Linked DNA regions of Homo sapiens: all the other regions are linked to region 4. Evidence: promoter capture Hi-C in 16 types of primary human blood cells and fetal thymus (Javierre and others, 2016). All regions are on one chromosome and are shown on one strand. Each heading gives the region's core, a stretch centred on a gene start or on the middle of the fragment in contact. The rest is flanking DNA. Distances are from core to core; before and after follow the strand shown. Region 1 overlaps TBCK (TBC1 domain containing kinase). Region 2 has its middle 280 kb from the start of TET2. Region 3 has its middle 81 kb from the start of TET2. Region 4 holds the start of INTS12 (integrator complex subunit 12). Region 5 has its middle 180 kb from the start of TET2. Region 6 has its middle 230 kb from the start of TET2. Region 7 overlaps AIMP1 (aminoacyl tRNA synthetase complex interacting multifunctional protein 1).

The links. The method cuts DNA at HindIII sites, captures the fragments that hold promoters and counts their contacts. A CHiCAGO score of 5 or more calls a contact.
Region 1: a fragment that was not itself captured here is called in contact with the fragment with the promoter of INTS12 in region 4 in 4 of 17 cell types (total B cells, activated CD4 T cells, fetal thymus and 1 more); the score reaches 6.9 in total B cells.
Region 2: a fragment that was not itself captured here is called in contact with the fragment with the promoter of INTS12 in region 4 in 1 of 17 cell types (monocytes); the score reaches 5.2 in monocytes.
Region 3: a contact is called between a fragment that was not itself captured here and the fragment with the promoter of INTS12 in region 4, in 1 of 17 cell types (total B cells). The highest score is 5.1, in total B cells.
Region 5: a contact is called between a fragment that was not itself captured here and the fragment with the promoter of INTS12 in region 4, in 1 of 17 cell types (naive CD8 T cells). The highest score is 5.6, in naive CD8 T cells.
Region 6: a fragment that was not itself captured here is called in contact with the fragment with the promoter of INTS12 in region 4 in 2 of 17 cell types (total CD4 T cells and total B cells); the score reaches 5.6 in total CD4 T cells.
Region 7: a contact is called between a fragment that was not itself captured here and the fragment with the promoter of INTS12 in region 4, in 1 of 17 cell types (fetal thymus). The highest score is 5.4, in fetal thymus.

What each region holds. Positions count from the first base shown.
Region 1 is chr4:106,307,278-106,310,163 of GRCh38, reverse strand. It overlaps TBCK (TBC1 domain containing kinase), which reads left to right. Exons shown (of 26, transcript NM_001163435.3): 2 at 1,175-1,396. The coding sequence starts at 1,204. Among named protein-coding and RNA genes, the nearest start is that of TBCK, 7.5 kb to the left of the region's middle. The HindIII fragment of the contact is 1,979 bases long and covers 421-2,399 here.
Region 2 is chr4:104,861,069-104,863,768 of GRCh38, reverse strand. No RefSeq gene overlaps it. Among named protein-coding and RNA genes, the nearest start is that of TET2, 280 kb to the left of the region's middle. The HindIII fragment of the contact is 1,702 bases long and covers 480-2,181 here.
Region 3 is chr4:105,064,105-105,066,912 of GRCh38, reverse strand. No RefSeq gene overlaps it. Among named protein-coding and RNA genes, the nearest start is that of TET2, 81 kb to the left of the region's middle. The HindIII fragment of the contact is 6,862 bases long and covers 1-2,808 here.
Region 4 is chr4:105,707,312-105,710,011 of GRCh38, reverse strand. INTS12 (integrator complex subunit 12) reads left to right here and starts at 1,323. Exons shown (of 8, transcript NM_020395.4): 1 at 1,323-1,374. GSTCD (glutathione S-transferase C-terminal domain containing) reads right to left here and starts at 1,228. Exons shown (of 12, transcript NM_001370181.1): 1 at 996-1,228. It overlaps LOC124900747 (a long non-coding RNA gene), which reads right to left. Exons shown (of 2, transcript XR_007058214.1): 2 at 1,916-2,111. RefSeq lists an enhancer at 999-1,248. The HindIII fragment of the contact is 4,662 bases long and covers 217-2,700 here.
Region 5 is chr4:104,970,420-104,973,228 of GRCh38, reverse strand. No RefSeq gene overlaps it. Among named protein-coding and RNA genes, the nearest start is that of TET2, 180 kb to the left of the region's middle. The HindIII fragment of the contact is 3,428 bases long and covers 1-2,809 here.
Region 6 is chr4:104,918,502-104,921,301 of GRCh38, reverse strand. No RefSeq gene overlaps it. Among named protein-coding and RNA genes, the nearest start is that of TET2, 230 kb to the left of the region's middle. The HindIII fragment of the contact is 738 bases long and covers 1,118-1,855 here.
Region 7 is chr4:106,326,238-106,328,949 of GRCh38, reverse strand. AIMP1 (aminoacyl tRNA synthetase complex interacting multifunctional protein 1) reads right to left here. Exons shown (of 7, transcript NM_001142416.2): 3 at 1,386-1,499; 4 at 707-874. Among named protein-coding and RNA genes, the nearest start is that of AIMP1, 11 kb to the right of the region's middle. The HindIII fragment of the contact is 5,734 bases long and covers 1-2,712 here.

The DNA of each region.
Region 1 (2,886 bases), core at 161-2,660, 600 kb before region 4:
GTGGATTTATTGAATTGGAATTCCAGCATATTTATCATTAAGCTGAGAAGGGAAAAATGCAGGGCTTTACCAGTAGAATGTCTTCTTAGTGAGGTCCATGGGTAAAAGATTTTTGTGTCAGAAGACCCTTTTTTTTGTTGTTATGGTTGCCTTAATGTGATTCAGATTGATATGGAGCAAGTTTCCTACTCTCCAGGCTACTACTTTACGCAACTTTGGGGCACCATTTATTTTGGAGTAAGTGCAAATAGGACGCCTCATGCTATACACATGGAACAACTATCTCTAAACTGGAGCCAATAGCTCTGTCAGGATTATTAAAAGGATTAAAGCAGATCATACATTATGTAAAATATCTAGCATAAAAATGAAAATTGGTTATTTAATATTATAGAGCCTTCTTTTAATCTAGTTTAAGCTTTACTACTATTAATAAGGTCCCCTATTCGTTACTAGTTGGTACCTATATTTCCTCTTTCCTGACCTACCTCACTGTATGAGAAGGAAGGTTGTCAGTGGTGTGTGGGTTATTCAATCTTTAGGTAAAGAGAGGAGCCTTATTGGCTGGGTGTGGTGGCTCACGCCTGTAATCCCAGCACTTTGAGAGGCCGAGGCGGGTGGATCACGAGGTCAGGAGTTCAAGACCAGCCTGGCCAACATAGTGAAACCCCATCTCTACTAAAAATACAAAAAGTTAACTGGGTGTGGTCGTGGGTGCCTCTACTCGGGAGGCTGAGGAAGGAGAATTGCTTGAACCCGGGAGGCAGAGGTTGCAGTGCGCGGAGATCACACCACTGCACTCCAGCCTGGGTGACAGTGCGAGACTGTCTCAAAAAAAAAAAAAAAAAAAAAAAAAAAGAGAAGAGCCTTATTAATAATATGAAGATGCAGTAACAAACTTCCTCTACTCTTTAAACTGTCAAATGTCATTGAGAATGGAATAATCTTTTCTTTTTTATGCCATTGAAAATCTTAGAGTTTGATTTAGAGCTGCAATATAAATTTATGCTGAGTTGTTTTGTCCTCTGATATTTTAGAATTTTCTTATACTTTGATATTTTTACTGTGAAGTGTTCAGGTTGGCATTTTCCTCCAAGTTGTATGTTAATCATGCTTAAGATTTGGTCTGTCTGGCTTAATGTTTGGTCTGTCCTAAAATTCTCTCCTTTTCCAGATTATCTTAGAAGACCTAGGACTCCAAAAATGTTTCCCCTGAAGGACGCTGAAATGGGAGCCTTTACCTTCTTTGCCTCGGCTCTGCCACATGATGTTTGTGGAAGCAATGGACTTCCTCTCACACCAAATTCCATCAAAATTTTAGGGCGCTTTCAAATCCTTAAAACCATCACCCATCCCAGACTCTGCCAGTATGTGGATATTTCTAGGGGAAAGCATGGTAAGTTATTTTCTTTTTTTTCCTATTTATGTTCTCTACTTTGTTACCCTAAGTTATAAATACTATATCCACTAAATATATAAAGCTATCATCAGTACCAGTGCACACATGTCCTTCTTTCTCTCATCCTTTTCCCCCACCCTGCCTCTCTCTCGTACACTTCCCCATTTACTTGCAAATCTACCAGGTAAAATTCAAACTCTTTACTAGGCTATTGCATACAAAATCCTTCATCTAGTCCTTGATCTAGTCTGTGCTGTCCTCTTTCGATGTATTGCTTGTTGTTTCCACTAATTTAACCCTTCATGCCAGCCAAGCTGAGTTGCTTTGAGGTTTTTTGATTCACATATCCTTGATTTTGTACTTTGCAATTTTCTCTCATGGATTATGCTATGCTCCATTCCCTGCAATCTGAGCTAAGTCTTTTTCCTAAGTTCTTTTATAGCTTTTATCACATTTTATTATTTTCTATTTAATTTTTCTCCTCTGAGGATTCTTAGTTCTTGAGGATAAGGACCTTTACTTGTGACCTCAGAGCACTCAATAAGTGTTTGTTAGCTGAATGAATGAATTAACAACTATATTTGAATGATTAATGTTTCTCAGATCTGAGAATCAGGATTTTTAATTTTCTTTTTCAGGGAAACCGTCTATTCTTAAACATATTTCTTTATCTATATGAAGGAAATGAAGTTCTAATGTTAGGAACTTTAGAAGAATTATCTAACAATATATTTTATGATTGAAAGTAATGATTTTGGCAACTGTCTTCAAATGAAAAGGGAGTCAGTAGATTTTTTTTTTTAAACTCCATTAGTCTTTTTATATAGCAGCCCATTTAGAGAACTGAATTAGAAAAGTTGAACCCTATTGGTTAAAAAGTCAGTGTTTGAGGAAGATGTTTACTGCGTTTTTAGTAGTGTAATCAGGTTCTTTCATTCTCCACTTAAAGATTCTTATGGTGGCAATATTTTTAATTATTTCAGAATTATTTTTGGAAGCTTAATTGCAGGGTAAGGTTGCATTTCTTAAAAATATTTTAAATGCATTTCAGTGAAATGTATTTAATTTTTCTAACATAAAATAATTTGTAGACGTAAAAAAATCTGAAAGTAAACCCTATGTAGTTGGTGATATTCAACTTTTTCCCTATAAAAGTGGCAATTTTATGTGTTTCAACCTAATATTAAAAACCCTGATAAATGCAAACAATGTTTTCTTTACTGTTTTGCTGAAAATAGACTAAACTGTACTTTCAAGTTCCCTGGTTTATTTCTCTTAAAATATTTACTCTGAGAATATTTGTGTTTTATAGACTGAGTAGAAATTTTTTTTGTAATGATAATTATTAATCGTTAAAATTTATTGAGCGTTTATATAAGGCAATATTCTTAGTGTTTTACATATTTTAATTACATATTTTAATTAACTTAATCCTTGTAACATTACTGTGTGAAAGGAACTAGTCCTGTCATTTTACAGATAAGAAA
Region 2 (2,700 bases), core at 81-2,580, 850 kb after region 4:
TTTTTTTTTTTTTTTTTTTTTTTTTGAGACGGAGTCTCGCTCTGTCGCCCAGGCCGGACTGCGGACTGCAGTGGCGCAATCTCGGCTCACTGCAAGCTCCGCTTCCCGGGTTCACGCCATTCTCCTGCCTCAGCCTCCCGAGTAGCTGGGACTACAGGCGCCCGCCACCGCGCCCGGCTAATTTTTTGTATTTTTAGTAGAGACGGGGTTTCACCTTGTTAGCCAGGATGGTCTCGATCTCCTGACCTCATGATCCACCCGCCTCGGCCTCCCAAAGTGCTGGGATTACAGGCGTGAGCCACCGCGCCCGGCCGCCATTCCCCTATTTCTTTCCCTCTCTTTAGGCCTTTCTATTCTCTAAGGCACAGCAATATTGATTTTAGGCCAATTAATAACCCTGCAATGATTTCTAAGTGTTCAAGTGAAAGAAAGAGTCATGCATCTTTCAATTTAGGTGGAAAGTTAGAAATGATTAAGCTTAGTGAGAAAGGCATGTCCAAAGCTGAAATAGGCTGATAGCTAGTCATCTTGTGTCAAATGGTAGCCAAGTTGTGGATGCAAAGGAAAAGTTTCTAAAGGAAAAGTGCTATTCTAGTGAAGACCCGAATGATAAGAAAACAAAACAGATTATTGCTGATATGGAAAAAGTTTTAATTGGAGAGAAGATCAAACCAGCCACAGCATTACCTTAAATCAAATTCTAATCCAGAGCAAGGCCCTAACTCTCTTCAATTCTGTGAAGGTGGATAGAGGTGAAATGGCTGTAGAAGAAAAATTGGAAGCTAGCAGGAAGTTGGAAGAAGAAAACCTCACAAAAAAAAGTTGGTTTCTGAGGTTTTACGGAAAGAAGCCATTTCTGTAACATAAAAGTATAAGATAAGGCTGCAAATGCTGATGGAGAATTTGCAGTAAGTTATCCAGAAGACTTAGCTAGCTAAGATCATTGATGAAGATGGCTACACTAAACAACAGATTTTCAATGTAGTTATAAAAGCCTTGAAAGATGAAAAATCTTGAAAGAAGATGCCATCTAGGACTTTCCTAGATAGATAGAAGTAGAAGTTAGTGTTTGGTTTCTAAGTTTCAAAGATTGGCCCTCTTATTAGGGGCTAATGCAGCTGGTAACTTTAAGTTTAAGCTAATGCTCATTTAGCATTCTGAAAATCCTGGGGCCCTTAAAAATTAAGCTAAATTTACTCTGCCAGTGGTCTATAAATAACAGAACAAAGCCTGGATGACAGCACATTTATTTACAGAATGGTTCACTGAATATTTTAAGCCCACTGTTGAGACCTACTGGTCCCTTGAGATGGAGTCTACACCTGAGGGAGATGCTATGAAAATTGTTGAAATAACAACAAAGGATTTAGAATATTACAGAAACTGAGTTGACAAAGTAGCTGCCTAGGTTAAGGGGACAGAATCCAGTTTTGAAAGAGGTATTATGTGGGTAAAATGCTATCAAATAGCGTCACATTCTACAGAGAAAACTCTTGTGACAGGAAGAGTCAATCTATGCAGCAAACTTCATTGTTGTCTTACTTGAAGAAATTGCTACAGCCACCCTAGCCTTCAGCAACCCCTACCCTGATCAGTCAGCAGGGATCAGCACTGAGGCAATACCCTCCACAGGCAGAACAGTTAAGAGTCACTGAAGGCTAAGATGATTGTTAGCATTTTTAGCAACAAAATATTTTTAAATTAAGATATTTACATGGTTTCTTTAGACATAATGCTATTGAACATTTAATAGACTACCATATAGTGTAAACATAACTTTTATGTGTGCAGGGAAACAAAAAAATTATGTGACTCGCTTTATTGTGATATTTCCTTTATTGCAGCTTTCTGGAACAGAACCCACAAGATCTCTGAGGCATGCCTGTCCTTAATTTACCCTAATCATGGAGGTGCTTTTTATTTGTTTTAAAAGAAAGGAACATCATATTAATATAACCACTGAACTCACATAAATACAATATGTTCTTCAAATTTCTCTACATGGAATAAGAATAGAGCTTGCAATTTTTTTTTTGTATTTAACTGATAGTGTTTATGGATAGCATTTAACTGATAGCATTTTCAGAACAATGGGTTGAGTTGAGGGGTGCTGTGGCAACCATTATATGGAGCCAGGCTACTGATCTGTACACAGAATGGCCTCCTAGTCTTGGCAAAGCTTTGAACCTCATGAGTGGGCCAGCTAATAGAACACGCCAAGAGACCATAGTCTAGCTGCTGCTGGAGAGCTTATATTGACTGCTGACGTTGATAATTATTCTGTTAACTTATATCGAGAAATACTTCCTCTCTAAAACCCCTAACACAGAGCAAGAATTATAATATCTACATCATTTTAGTACATTCCACAAAATAACAAGTCATGTACTGTATGAGTTAACTGTTCCATGTCCTCTAAGCACTTAGGTGGAAACTTGGTGACCCCCAAATATACTGGAAAATATTTTTTTCCCTGAACTTTTCTGTAAGAATTCTTAGAAGGTAGAGTGTCTGATTAATATTCTAGCATAGCAATACAAGTTTAGAGCCCTTAGTTGTGTGGAAAATATCTTAGGAGAAAACTGTCACAGAGATTTAACCCTTGGGATAGTATTTAGAGTGGAAACAAAATAATTACCTAGAGTGTTAGAACATTTTCCTGATCTTAAGTTTCTTTGAAAATAATATATTTTGAGGTCA
Region 3 (2,808 bases), core at 252-2,751, 640 kb after region 4:
AATTATGCTTCTATAATAATTGGCCATCTCTCTGCATAGTGGGGAAATTTAGGAGATGTGTACCTGCAATGAGGATTTCCTGTTGATTCTTATAATCCACATCTATCTTTCAGCCAGGACAAGCTAGTTAAACAACTATGGGTTCTCAAAAAATGGAAGAGTTTTAAGGCTTTTTTGAGAGAGGCTGTCCACTATGATATGGGTCCCATGGAATAAAGAAGAGGATATGTTTTCCTCTCTATCATTCTAATTTGCTGTATCAGAGTAAGTGGAGAATTAGCAGAAAAATGAACTGAGTTGTTTGAATTATCCTATTTGGCTCAGCATACATAAATTGAGTGCATATGACATTTAGGCCTAATTTTAGTTGGTTAGGATGAGATGAATTAGATATAATAGTCTCCCTCAAGGGTTTATAATGAGGAGAAATAGATTTATGAGCAACTAAGTATTTAAAACAATGTGGTTTTAACAGAGATAGGGCCAAAATTCATTATAGATTTTAAATACATAACATAGGAAAAAATTCTTTTTTATTAAAAAAATTATTTCAACCAAAACATTTCTATAATTCTTGAATTAAAGTCCACCTCACAGATAAGATTTTTGCAAAACTGAAATATACAAAGTTTCAGAGTCAATAGTCATTTCTGATAATTAACTGCAATACTATGGACAAGTTATTTAATTTCTATAACCTTGATTGTTTTCTTATGTAAGGTGTGGATAATTCTAACTCCAAAGAGTGTAAGGATGAAGAAAGAAAACATTCATAAAGTACCTAAAGTAGTACCTGGCACATATCATCACTCAATATGTGCTGGCTTTATCCTACCTTCCATCACAAGCCTTATTTTTCTTCTTTCCAAAGAAAGAATAGGAAGGATGTATTTTAGTTAGTAATAACAGTTATAAAGAAGAATACATTTTGAGGTCATGTCTAAGGAGATAAGTGCATCCTGTTTTCTTCCTTGTGTTATTTAAAACATAGTGTTCAACGTTGACTTTAATGAGAAACAGGGCTTGTTGTAGATGCAGAGAGGGGCAGCCTCCATATCTACCTGCCTACACATGAAATAAGGGTCACTGCATTTCTTTGAAGGAAACCCAGGGCTCTGCTTATTACTCCCCTGTTCTGTGCAGTGAACACATAACGTAACAGTTGCTAAGGACCCACTCTGCACAGAGCTTGAGCTGGGCCTTCCCATGTACATCGATCTCCAGTTCTTCTAACAACTTTGTGGTCAAAAGATGTGGAAATAGGAGAGTTACAGAGTTAGAGATGGTCTGGACCAGGATTACAAACATTCTATTTCTCTTTTTACAGAAGCCAATTCTTCACTGTGGTCTGAAGGCCCTCTCTACTCCTGCCCCTTCCTTCTTCATCTTTCACAGGAGTTTCCCCCAATATATATCTTACATGTGTAATCCTGTTTTGTTAGCTCCTCCTGGGTTGACCTGAGTTGACATGGCAGAAACCAAACATGTTCTGATAAGTCAAGTGGCAAGATGGAGCTTGGGGCCTGGCTCACTCATTTCTCGACAGGCAAGGAGGACTGCATCATGAGAGGAATGTGGGGCCTAGATAGTCCCTGGCACAAAGTGAAAATCCAATCGCTGAACAATTCATCAGGGGTGACTTGAGGAAACATCCCAATGGAAAATGCCCTTGCAGTTATAATGATTCAAGGATTTGAAAGAGAGATGGCGGTGGGGAGCACAAGGACAGAGTGTTGGCTGGGCATTACTGTTATATTGATGCTCTGCAATGGGATAATGAGAAACAGAGAACCATTAACAAACTACTGCTAAGGGCAAGAGTTAGAGAACCTCTCTGGTGATTTAAGAAGGGTCTCTTTTCCCCTGCAGTGGAATAATGAACAGCTGAAAAACAGACTCCAGGATTTGACAAGTAGAATTCCAGAGCATCAGAGATACTTACATGCTCAGCCAAGGCAGACCATGGATGAAAACCTAGGATCTTAAAACATGGGATGAAGACATAATGGGTAGATTCCCCCAGAGGATTTTGGCTCTGTATACATCCCTGAATGTTCAAAGTTTACAGAGGTGGCTCATTCCTTTGCAGTAAGAGGTGGCAATGCCTGAGTGTGGGAGATAAACCTCATGATGTTTTAGAGACCTGTCATTTCAGTGAAGTTTTTAGAGGTCCAAAGAAGCTCCTGGAACAATATTAGATCCTGCTAGGGACGGAGCTCTTGACCATGGGACACCAATTGTCCTGCCCATTATGAGCTAACTTCTGTCAGACTGGCCAAAGCATAAATATGAATGGGCTGAGCAGCAGTCTCTCATTAGATAGAAATGTACATCCAGAAATGTCATATGCAATGACAATGAGCACAGGTAAGCTATGTGGGAAGGTAGACAAGACTCCCACATTAACCATCACAGTCACAGCAGTGATGCTTACAGAAATTGCACCTGTGCCTGTGGGGAAATCCTGTCCAATCAACTGAAGGAATGAGATAAACCTGAGCTTGGCTTATGGACAGGTTGGCTCAGTATGTAAAAATGGAAAGTGACTATGAGAAATATAATTATGGTAGCTACAACTAATTGATTAAAAACTTGACTGTAAAAGTATATACTTTTTAAATACTTAAATATGTGTAATTATTTTTCAAGTTCTTTTCTCCTGAAAGTAGAATTTTTAAAAATATTCATAAAACTTAAAAATTATTTGGGTTATAGTTATATTCATACTTTTTCTCTCTGACTACCTAATTTAGGATAATGAAGTTTTTAGTCCTTTACTTAAGCATTTCCATCTGCCCAGCAACTGGA
Region 4 (2,700 bases), core at 74-2,573:
GTGGTGTATGCTCCCCATCAGGCAGTTAAAAAAAAAGAAAAAAAAACCCGCATAGCTTAATGTTTATTAAATATGACAGCGAATCACTTAGTTGTGTTATAACAGTTTATTATCATGGATTTAAATGACTATGTTTACATGTTTAAAATTATCACATCACTAGTTCTTGCTAGCTTTTGCATTTTCTCCTGTAAACATTGTTTTTACAGATAAGCTTAGGTAAAATAGAAATACACCACCTTCTTTATCAATAATGTAGCACACAATATATTACTAAAGCTGGCATTTTCTTGATATTCAAGAATTTATGACAAGGAATGGGATCCTGGCATTAAGAATAAAGGGGAAAAAAACAAGTCATCTCATCCCAAAACCAGGTAGAAAGTTGGGATGGGAAGTACGTGTATTAGCAAACGTTTTTGAAACCAAAGCAACTTTCATGCAAATTAAACTTTCTATAGAAGTTAAAAACCCAAGAGATACTGCTGTGATGACAAAACATAAGCAAATGGCCCCAAATGAAGCAAGTCCTTTGGAGTAAATGTTAAGTAGTATTCACATAGAACTGCTTTCTGCAATCAGGAAGGGCTGGAATGGAAAACTCAATGCCAAAGAGAGAAGAGAAGTTAGTGTGACCCAAGAGGTCTTGAAGTAACACTTAACAGCAAATATCAAACCACCCCAACCAACGCCTCCAACTGGAAGCTGCCCCATTTCTCCATCAGCAGAGGAAGACATGAGGGACTGGCTAGGGGGAAACTGGGAAACGCGTACTACCGAGAAGCCCAGAGCCCTCAACCCGCACCTTCAGCAGGAGTGGCCAAAAAGGAGTTTGAGGCGGCCCCAGGGCGGGAGAAAAATCAGGACGATGATACCACGCCCTTGTCCTTCCCACCCTTCCCCCGCATCCTCAGCCCTGCAGACCCCCGAAGAAAAGACCAGTTCTTAGGGGGTCGCGGAGGCTGAGAAGCCGGCGGCCCGAGCGCCCTCTTTACCTGGTCGCAGAGGCGCGGCCAGGCAGGGAGGGTGCGTGAGCGTGTCGGCGACCTGGGCCGCCTGCGCCTTCCCGCCCAGTCCGAGCTGGAATTCCAAGGCTGCCTCTGGGAGCTGCTGCCCGCAGACCACTCGCCTCCACAGACGCCAGGAGAAAAACGACAGCCACCTTATGTGGAAAATACTCGCGCCGGCCGTCATTCATAATCCGGCGGACCGGAAAAAGGGAAGTAACGTCACTTCCTACTGTCGCACTGCCAAACGTTTCCCCCGCCCCTACTGTGGGAACCTTTGTTTTCCTGCTTTCGGAGCCGGCCAGTGCGGGAACCGTTTCCGAAGGGACCACCGGGAACAGACGGATCGGCAGGGCGGGGCGGAACGGTGAGTTATGCTGAGCGACTCTGCTCCTGGCCTCCTGGAGGCTCGAGACCCCCGCGCCAGGAGCGAGGTGGGAGAGTAGCTACGTGGGGTATTAGTTTCCTCGCTCCTCAAGGGGAATCATAATTTACGGGCGGTTGCGTGCCCTAGACTGACTGCTCTCCCCTTTCAGTGAGGACTGTGCTTCCTCCGAGGGAGTTGCGGGCCGGGACATGCGGACCGAGCATATTTCTAGGTCTAGGGACAAGGGACTTGGAATCCTGCCTCGGACTTTGTCGGAGGGTTTTAGTGACTTCTCTACGTAGCTCCCTCATTGTCTCTCATCTTTTGGCTCCCCTGTCAAGGACCATCCCCCATTCTAGGACTTCGATGTGTGATGCTTTGATCAAAGGATTGACATTCCTTTTCTAAGTGTTTGCTGTCAGCTTTCAGCCACTTGATTGGTTTGGAATCGGAGCCTTTTCTCCTGCGATTCCAGGTGTCCCTAAGGTATCAGTGTTATCCAGAACCAAGAACTCAGTGGAGGAATGAAAAAGGCAGCATCTTTAAAATAATGTTTATTGGAAGGGGTTGCAAGAGCTTGCGAAGTCATGAAGAACAAAGTTTTTTAGAGCCATTATGAAATGGCAACGATAATACTGCACTCTATGTGAACAGTTTCTGTTTCCTTCATCTGGGGCACGTGCATATGATCAACTTTGGACTTCTTTTGAGATTGCCAGGTAGGGTGAAAAATGGATCTAGGAGAAAGCACATACTTATATTTATATATGAATGCCCAATTTAGACTGGAGAGATCACAGAAGCCTTATAAGGTGACATTTACGCAAAAAACCTAGTTCGTTCATTCGATAAATATTTTTGAGCCCTTATTAAGTTTCAAGCACTAGGGAAATAACAGTGAACAAAACAAGTTCCTGCTGTCATCAAGTTTACAGACCAGTGGGATTAATGAATTAAGCAAGACAGGCGAAAGATTGTGAGAATTTTACAGATAGGAACATTGTACTACAAGTCCCCAGTCGTGAAAGAGGTGATTGCTTTGCTTTTGCTTTTTTGATGTTTGGAGTTTTTTTTGTGGGGGCAGGGGTGAGTTACTTTTGTGATTTTTGCTGAAGGGACCTTGGAAATGGCTACAATTGTGTAGAAGGAGAGATAAGACCACTATACTTTGATCACTTAATTCCAGTAATTCTATAGCCATTATTTTGTTGTACTTTGCAAAGTGGCAAAGAGATAGGCAAAAAGATAAATATAGACTCTGCCCTTAAAGTACTCAGAGTTTTGTAGGGGACATAACACTTGTGCCAAAAAAAAAAAAAAATGCTT
Region 5 (2,809 bases), core at 114-2,613, 740 kb after region 4:
CTGTAGAATAACTAAGCTGATTGTTGAAGAAACTGTAGACTTTAGTGTTAAAAGAGGGAGTGACTGTGAGTGCTCTAGGTAGACAGAGCAATATTTGACAAGTGCAGTGACTTGGATGTGAGAATAATCATGGTGGCCTCTATAAACTGTCAGCAAGTATTGGAGCCAGAGCGAGTGTGATGGGCTAAGGAGGCCCAGTGAAAAAAGGATTAGTGCTTTCATGGTGGCCAAATGAGAAAAAGATTAGGGCATTTTACTTCTATAATCCTAATAGATCCCACAGTCCCACGTAGCCCAGTTTCTTTATGGGGGGGGCCTCTAAAAAAGCCCAGTCTAAGTAATCAAAAAATCATCAAGCAACTCTAATCTTAAAAATTGTACTTCTCAAAAAATATAAAAATCCTCACTTTCCTCTATCCAATTTCTATTTTCTATTCCTCCTATTTTCTAACACCTAAAAACTACCTCTGTAAATTCTTAATCCTTCAGTATTTTCGCGACATTCAGCTCTCATCTTTTCCCTTCTCCCTCTCTTTCCTTTTCACTTATCTCTTTATTAAGTTTACTTAATGTCTCCAAGTCTTTCTCATTCTCTGGTCTTTTCTTTGTCTAACCTCCTGATGACTACATCCTAAAAGATCCAGAATAGGTCTAGAGATGGAACTTTCTTGAGACAGCAGGAAAGAAAGACAGGAGCTTTGTGTACTTTTATAAACGCAGTGGTAAATTACACTTATAAACTTGGACTTAATTCTGGATCTAGTCGCAGTCACGGGAGGATTTTTAGCCAGGGAGTGATACAGTAAGATTTGCGTGTTAGAATGTTTCCTTTTATAGAATTGCAGAGAATAAACAAATAATTACTTCAGTTACACAAACATAATAGTGCTGAGCATTTATTTATTAAATTTATGTATATAATGACTATCATAGGCAATAAGGGAACTTATAATTACAAGTAACTTTAAACAACTGAGCTAAATGTAAACAGAAAATCAAGGCCAAAGAAAATATGTCTGCAAAAATGAGTGTTGTTATAGTTTCTTTTATTCAGCTCCAAACTTACCTCAGAGTTGCTGTTGGAGCAGTGAGTAAACCAGCTTACTAATTTATAGCAATTGTGGTAGTCGACTTCAAAAGTGATTTCTTGGGAGTGTGTTTTGAGAAGTTGAGGACCAAACAATAAAATGTAAATTTAATGTTAGAGACTATAAGGACTGAGTATACTGCTTTCTAGAATGTAAGAGTCAGGAACGTGAATAAATAGATTGCTAGAACATAAATGGTTAATATGTCTGTCAACTGTTGTCAGTTATTTTTCTCAGATTTGATAGGTGCTATGTTAATACTATTTTGGTCTGGAAGAATTTTAAAGCAGATGTGTTTTATTCATTCTTGACATAGAAAAACAAATTTCTGTAGGGCGCCTGGGAAAGTCTGATTCTAAGTATCATGCTGTCTGGACATGCCTATTCCATAATATGCATTCTCACATAACCGGTTTGTGATGTGGTATGATCTTATGGTGACTAATTGAATTTTGAGAAAGTTTGCCAATGACAATGATTTTATGGCATGTTGACCCTTTCTTTTCTGTAGGAGATTGAGACATCTTGATGCTCCTTCTGATTTGTAATGGGGGACTTAGTAAGATACAACATAAAGACATCATCTAAGGGATGGCCCCTAGCCAACAGGTTTTGTGTGCATTAATTATGACATGTAGGAAGTATCTGTATATAGTCAGCACATAGGAAATATTTCTCTTTATTTTCTCTGCAGGAGAATAGCTATCAGGCACCAGATGATGTTCGTGTTGTCATCAGGTGTGATTGCCAGGATGAACATAAAAAAACAAACATATCTAACCCACCAGTGGAGCTGCTTTTCCACCTTCCTTTCCCATTGGGTGTGGCTTTGTGATGCTACTAAGATCAAGAGAGAGGAAAAGAGAGTTTGGCGGTTTGGAAGAGCTGCATGGAAGATGTGATACTTGAAAGAAAGATAGCTAGGTTTAGTGAAGTAAGACAATAATCAGGTCAAATAGAGAAACAGGAACAAAAGTTGAGCTGTATGATGATGAGATGCCTGTGAGCAGAGGGAGTTCATTCTCAGTGAGGACAAGAAGATGCTCAACTAAATTAATCTAACTAGCTCTTTATTTAAAAGTCACTGGGGATTCACAGTCTACATAGTATCAAGTAAAGGATGGCCAGTTTAGCTTGTGAATGATGGCAAAATTAAGTGATTCAGAAAACAGTGACCTGTTTCACATTTATTCATTAGGTTGAATTTTGTGTTCTATTTTTATATTCAAACTCTATACCAGTTCCCCTTCTCACTGTACTAAAATGCTGAAATGTATTTATTTTTATCTATAGGTTAACATTCAGCATCAACTAATCAGGAATTTCTTCAATTTTATACGTGAAGGGTATGTTTACAAGTATAAAAAAATAAATTTAAAAATTTTTGATATAAGAAAATATCTTGCTGTTTTGGGTCCTTTCTTTTGAGAATGGGAGTATTCTAAAAACAATTTTACCTGTACCTTAGAATTGCAAATGGAAATCCTTGATATTTAAATTTAAGTGTCTTTTTAATGCTTAATATGAATTCTACATCATCAGATATGTGGCAGCAAAGTTATAATTTTTCTGAAAAATTATATTTTTTAGCAAGAATATTTGCATGCAAAGCATCTTATTTTTTTCTGAATATCAGGCTTTTCCCAGAAACCATTAATTTTCTTTCAGTATTTTAAGTCAGTATTTTTCTATTTTCTACAGTCTGTTGATAGTGGTGGGAA
Region 6 (2,800 bases), core at 237-2,736, 790 kb after region 4:
GTTCAAATGATAGATCAAATCTATGATTTATGCTATGTAGAAAAGCGCTTGCTAAAAATCAAAACTCCATAAACGCACATTACCTCGAATTAGTCTTGCACCTTTCATCTACAGACCTGGTGGGACTAAAAAAGAATAAATATAAATATTATTAATTGTCATTCAGAATCTTTGGTGAATGAAAAGGGCCATTACTAGATTCTGGTTCTGGTTTACCAACCTAGTCAGTTCATAGAGGAAGCTGGGGCCTGTTGAGGCAACATGGTACAATGGAAAGCTTTTAGACTCTGCCCGGGTTCAAATCCTGGTTCTGCCACTTACAAAATGTAAATAGAAGGAAAATGTACTTAATTTCTTGGAGCTTTATTTTTACGCCATTTCTCAGACATGTGAGTGTTAGTGGGTTCTTTGGATTATTGTGAGGTCAGTTCCTCTCATTTTAAATGACTTTCCCAGGGTCACTTAACTAATTAGGCAGAGTGGACTAGAGTGTTTATCCCCTGATGGTTCATCATATGCTCTGTTCAGTATACCATGGCTACTTTTCTAGCTAAGGATTTTGAAGCATGCCATATTAAGGCACATCATTTTAATTATAAATAGACTAGAATGAAACAAAGGTGTGACAAATACTGTGGTTTGGTTGATCCAATCTGTTGTTAATGTCATCCAGCTAAAGACCACCAGGAACATACCTGTAATCGAGCAAGTCTGACTTATTAATAGATGCAAGAAAGGAGACCACACACCATGGGAAATGTGGGGCATTTCAGTAAGAGGGTGTTTGGAAGGATTATTACAGGATCTGGTCTCAGGTGATTTTTGGGGAGGGCTTAAGAAAGTGGCTTTGCTCTGAATTGGATGCTATCAGGAATTGGGGGTAAATATATGATTGCTTATTTTAAAAATCTTATCTATAATATGGGAAAAATAAAGTGAGGCTAAAGAATCAAACTGGGAAAGAAGCAGCAGCTACTGATATTAGCCAGGCTATGAAGGTGCTTGGTATTTTTGTGGTTTGCACAATGATCTTGTTTATGTGCTTAGACAAGGTTATAGAGTGGTCTTTTTTTTTTTTCAGTTCATCATGGTCACTGATGTTGGTGATTTGGAAGCTTGTTTATGTTCAACAGGATATCATCAAGGCCTATTTATGAACATAGCTAGCTTTTCACAACATCAAGGCCTAGCTATATAGCTGCAGTTTCTGAAATGTCAAAAGCTGCTCTTCTTTTTCTCTCTGCATCTCTTTTCTCTCCAGCCACCTTTCTGCAAGGACTGGCTCCGGGGCAAAATTATAGCCAAAGAAACATACACAGAAGTTTCCTGGGAGCTTCCTAATAAAACTTTTACTTTCAAATATTGGTACCACCCATTCTCCTTGCTACATCCTCTTTCTTCTTGTTGGAAAGGGGATATAATTGTAGAAGCCACAACAGCTTTTTTGTAATTGTGAGGACAAAGTAAAGTGATCTCAGAGTCTTTGGCATCATTGATCTGCTGAACCAGCCCAGCACTGCTAAACTCTGGATTTCTCATTATGGGAGAAAAATACTTCTCATTTTTTTCAAGCCACTGTAGTCAGGCTTCCTGTTTGTTACCTGTTGCTGAAAGCATTCCAAAAACATTGGGCATTCACCTTCATTATTTACTAAACTAGATACTCTTCTGGCAGCCAAATTTTTATGATGACTCAGAACATATTCCATTTGGAAATAGAGCTTGGCAATTATTCTCCCCTTTTAAAAATTAGTCTTAAGTAAATGAATTACTGTTCTTTCTGCTTCATAAGGTTTGTCATTATTACTTCACTCAGATGCAATTGCTTTCAGAAACCTGAATAAGAAAGAAAGCTTTAGAAACCTTCCAGATTAAGTTCTGCAGGAAGAAGTGTGGGTACATTTGTAGACTTGATTATTTAAAGGGTGGATACAGCTATAAACCTAATTGCTAGATAATTGTGACTTCACCACTGCAATTTGTTGGGTCCCTATTCCCATTGTGATTTGTCAAGCTTCACAGTGTATTGGTTGTTTTTAATGATCATTGACTTAGAGGTGAAAAGAACTCCTGTTTTCCTAGGGGATAATTCCCTGGTTATTCTGTGCTATAGTGGTTAGAAGGTTAGATTGCATATTACAGAATCAATGCCCACTGGAAAACTAATAGCATGTTTGGAAGTGATGATGAGGACAATAGCTAATTACTATTAACTGTGTAGGAAAACTAAACTGCAGGGCCGGTAGGAATCCAGCGCCTGCTAGATGCTGGATGAGAGTTCTTAACAAAAGAAAAGTGAAAAGGTTCAGGGAAACTTCATGTATTGACAGCTGGGATTTGTACATTAAAAATCTTGTGCCTGTGGTCAGAATAAATTTTACTCTGGTCAAAATAAATTTTTTCTCTACCCACCAACTGGTAATTATTTTACAAGTGATAGTTTTTTATTTTTTTAAAAAATCTCCTTCTGCACCTTACACATAATAGATACAAAATAATTACTGTTCAAGAAATGCTTGAAAATATATTAAAATTGGACTCTAAAGAATAGTTTAATTTCTGCAATAATGACAGTAATAATTTATCAAAATGTTCTCCATAAATAGTAAATTATTTAGCAGATCACCATTCATATATAACAGATATATTACTGAATAAAATATATTAATGTTCACTGTGGTTAACATAAAATATCCAGATGGGAGGGAATTTAATAATTTATGGGGATGATTCTTGTCCACTTAACTAAGTAGGATGTGAATTTTGCATAAAGTGCTTGACCGTTCCATGAAAACTTGTC
Region 7 (2,712 bases), core at 118-2,617, 620 kb before region 4:
TAGAATAAATAGCTTTAGCAGCAAGGCTAAAAATAAACTAGAAAAGATGAGGCTTTAATATTAATTCAGATGAAAGATCGTTGAAAACCTGAACTGAGGTAGGACCTAATGAAAAGAAAGAGCAGAGCTGGGGTCTATGTATGTTTTGGGGACAGGAATAATAGAATTTGTTGGTTAATTAGATATGAAGAACAGGGAATAGGGACAGGTTAAGGTTGATGACTAAATTTCAAGGGTTGTTGCCTAAGTGGATGGTGACATTTCTATCTACTTTAGTTCTCATGGATTCTTGAAATCTTAGTTCAGACAGTCTGTTTTGACTGGTGGAATGTTCTTTTCCTATCTTCACAACTGGTCCTAAGCTAGTTTCCTATCTGTGACTTCTCTCAAACTATACCACAAATAGATACCAAAATTCAGCCATACCAAACTACATATGGGTTTCTACACTTAACCTTTACAGTCTGTTTTAACTTATGCCAGTCCCTCTGCCTAAAATGCCACATTTTTACCCCGTTAATCTGGTCAATATTCACACACCATTTAGGACCCAGCTTTTATGTTCCAATATCATATTGTTCCTAATTTTATCCTAGCTCATGAAAGTTGAACTTTACTTTTGATACTATTATTATTATCATTATCAAAACTTGACATTTTCTGATAATCCAGTCAAGAGCTAAATATGCTTAAAGGTCAAAAATACCTTTCTTTTCAATTTTCTCTTTCGCTTTCTTTTCGTCTCCTGTTCCTCCTTTTATCTGTTCTTTGGTACCAGAAGATACGGTTGTTACTGCTGTAGACTGTATCACATTTTCAGAAACCATAGAATTAGCGTGCAGTGGAGTACCAGATGGAAATGGTATTTGCTTCACTGAGACAGAAAATGAAATAATGTCATTCATATTAAACCAATAAATATGACAAAAAATATGAAATTGTGAACCACAAATGGGAACTCTTTTTAAATGAAAAATTCACTGTATATGGCTATCAAATATCCACTGTCTGAGACTATAAAATGGCTGCCAAAAAATTAGGCATATTTTAGCCATAATTGAGGTATCAAAGAATAAAGGCATGATTCCCATTTAATCAATTACTAAACCGAGAAACCTGCAAATAAGAACAGCTAACATTTATTATGAACTTACTATGCCCCAAACACTTTTCAAAATGCTTTATACAAATTAACTCATGTAATTCTCATACTCTAAGAAGTAGGTTCTATCCATGCCCCCATTTTATTGATAAATCTGAGTCATTTAGAAGTTATGAAGTTGTCCAAGTTGCCTAGATACAGATTCTTACTTCTTTCCTCACTGTTGGTGTGACTGGCCAACTTCTTAACTTCTGGATTACTCAAATTTTCTATATTTAATTACCTCCATTTTGAATTTCTGCCTGAATTAGCTCTTGTTTCAGTTCTTCAATTTCTTTCTTCAGTTTAGCATTTTCAACTCGAAGTTTCTTCTCTTCCCTCAAAGTTGCCTGCAAAACTAGGATCAAGAACATCCAGTTAAAATATGTTTTTAAAAGAGGTTTTGTATGAATACTATTTGAAAAGAAGACAGCCAGTATAACTACAGCTAGGATAATACTAGCTCTAGTGTAACCAAATGTTTGGCCAGTGCCTTTATGCCAGTTTAATATTTATTAAAACAACATGCTATTTAAGAGAGAGAGAGAGAGAGGGAGAAAATATATGAAATAAGAGTAAAACAGAAAGACTTTGTTTATGAATCATTTTCCTAGCTCCTATTAAGATGCTAACTAAGATCAAATTACCACCTTTTCAGCATTGCGGCTATAATAAAAGGCAATGGCAAATAACTTAAGAAGCTGGCACAAAAGTGTCAATATGTGGCCAGGTGTAGTGGCTCATGCCTGTAATCCCATAATCCCAGCACTTTCAAAGGCTGAGGCAAGAGGATCACTTGAGCCCAGGAGTTTGAGACCAGCCTGGGCAACATGGCAAAACCCATCTCTACAATAAATACAAAAAGTAGCTGGGGGTTGTGGTACATTCATGTGGTCCCAGCTACTCAGGAGGCTGAGGTGGGAGGACTGATCGAGGCTTGGAGATTGAGCCTGCAGTGTGAGTTGAGATAGTGCCACTGTATTCCAGCCTGGGTAACAGAGCAAGACCCTGTCTCAAAAAAATTTTTAAAAATAAAAGATAAAATGTCAATAACAGATGCTGAAAAAAAAGAGAAGCATTATATTAAATTATATATATATTTTTAAAAAAATTCTGAGATGTTACCACACAAGCAAAAACTATTCTCATGTCTTTCTTTTTAGTCATTACCTTTTAAAAGAAGCTGAATATTGCTAAAGTCTGAGTTAAGCTAATCAAACATTCAATGAGTGAAATAACTCAAGGATTTGCTCAAAATATAATGTATGTGTTAAAAGTGTGCAATGGGGTAACAAAAGTATAAGAGAAAAATAATGGTTCTCAGTGGGGTTGGTACTGCTTTGTAGGTAGGATTTTGAAAATCTGTAGGATTATTTTTGATTGTTAGTACTGGCATTTATTGGGCAGAAGCCAAGAATGTCAGATGTCCTGCAGTATGCTGGATACTCCTGCAAAATGAAGAACTGTTTCACATCCTGCAGAACTTTATAGTGGCCTATCATAAATTTGTATAAGTAAAAATCCTATTAATAATTATTTGAGTCTAGATTTTTAACTATTCTTTATATATA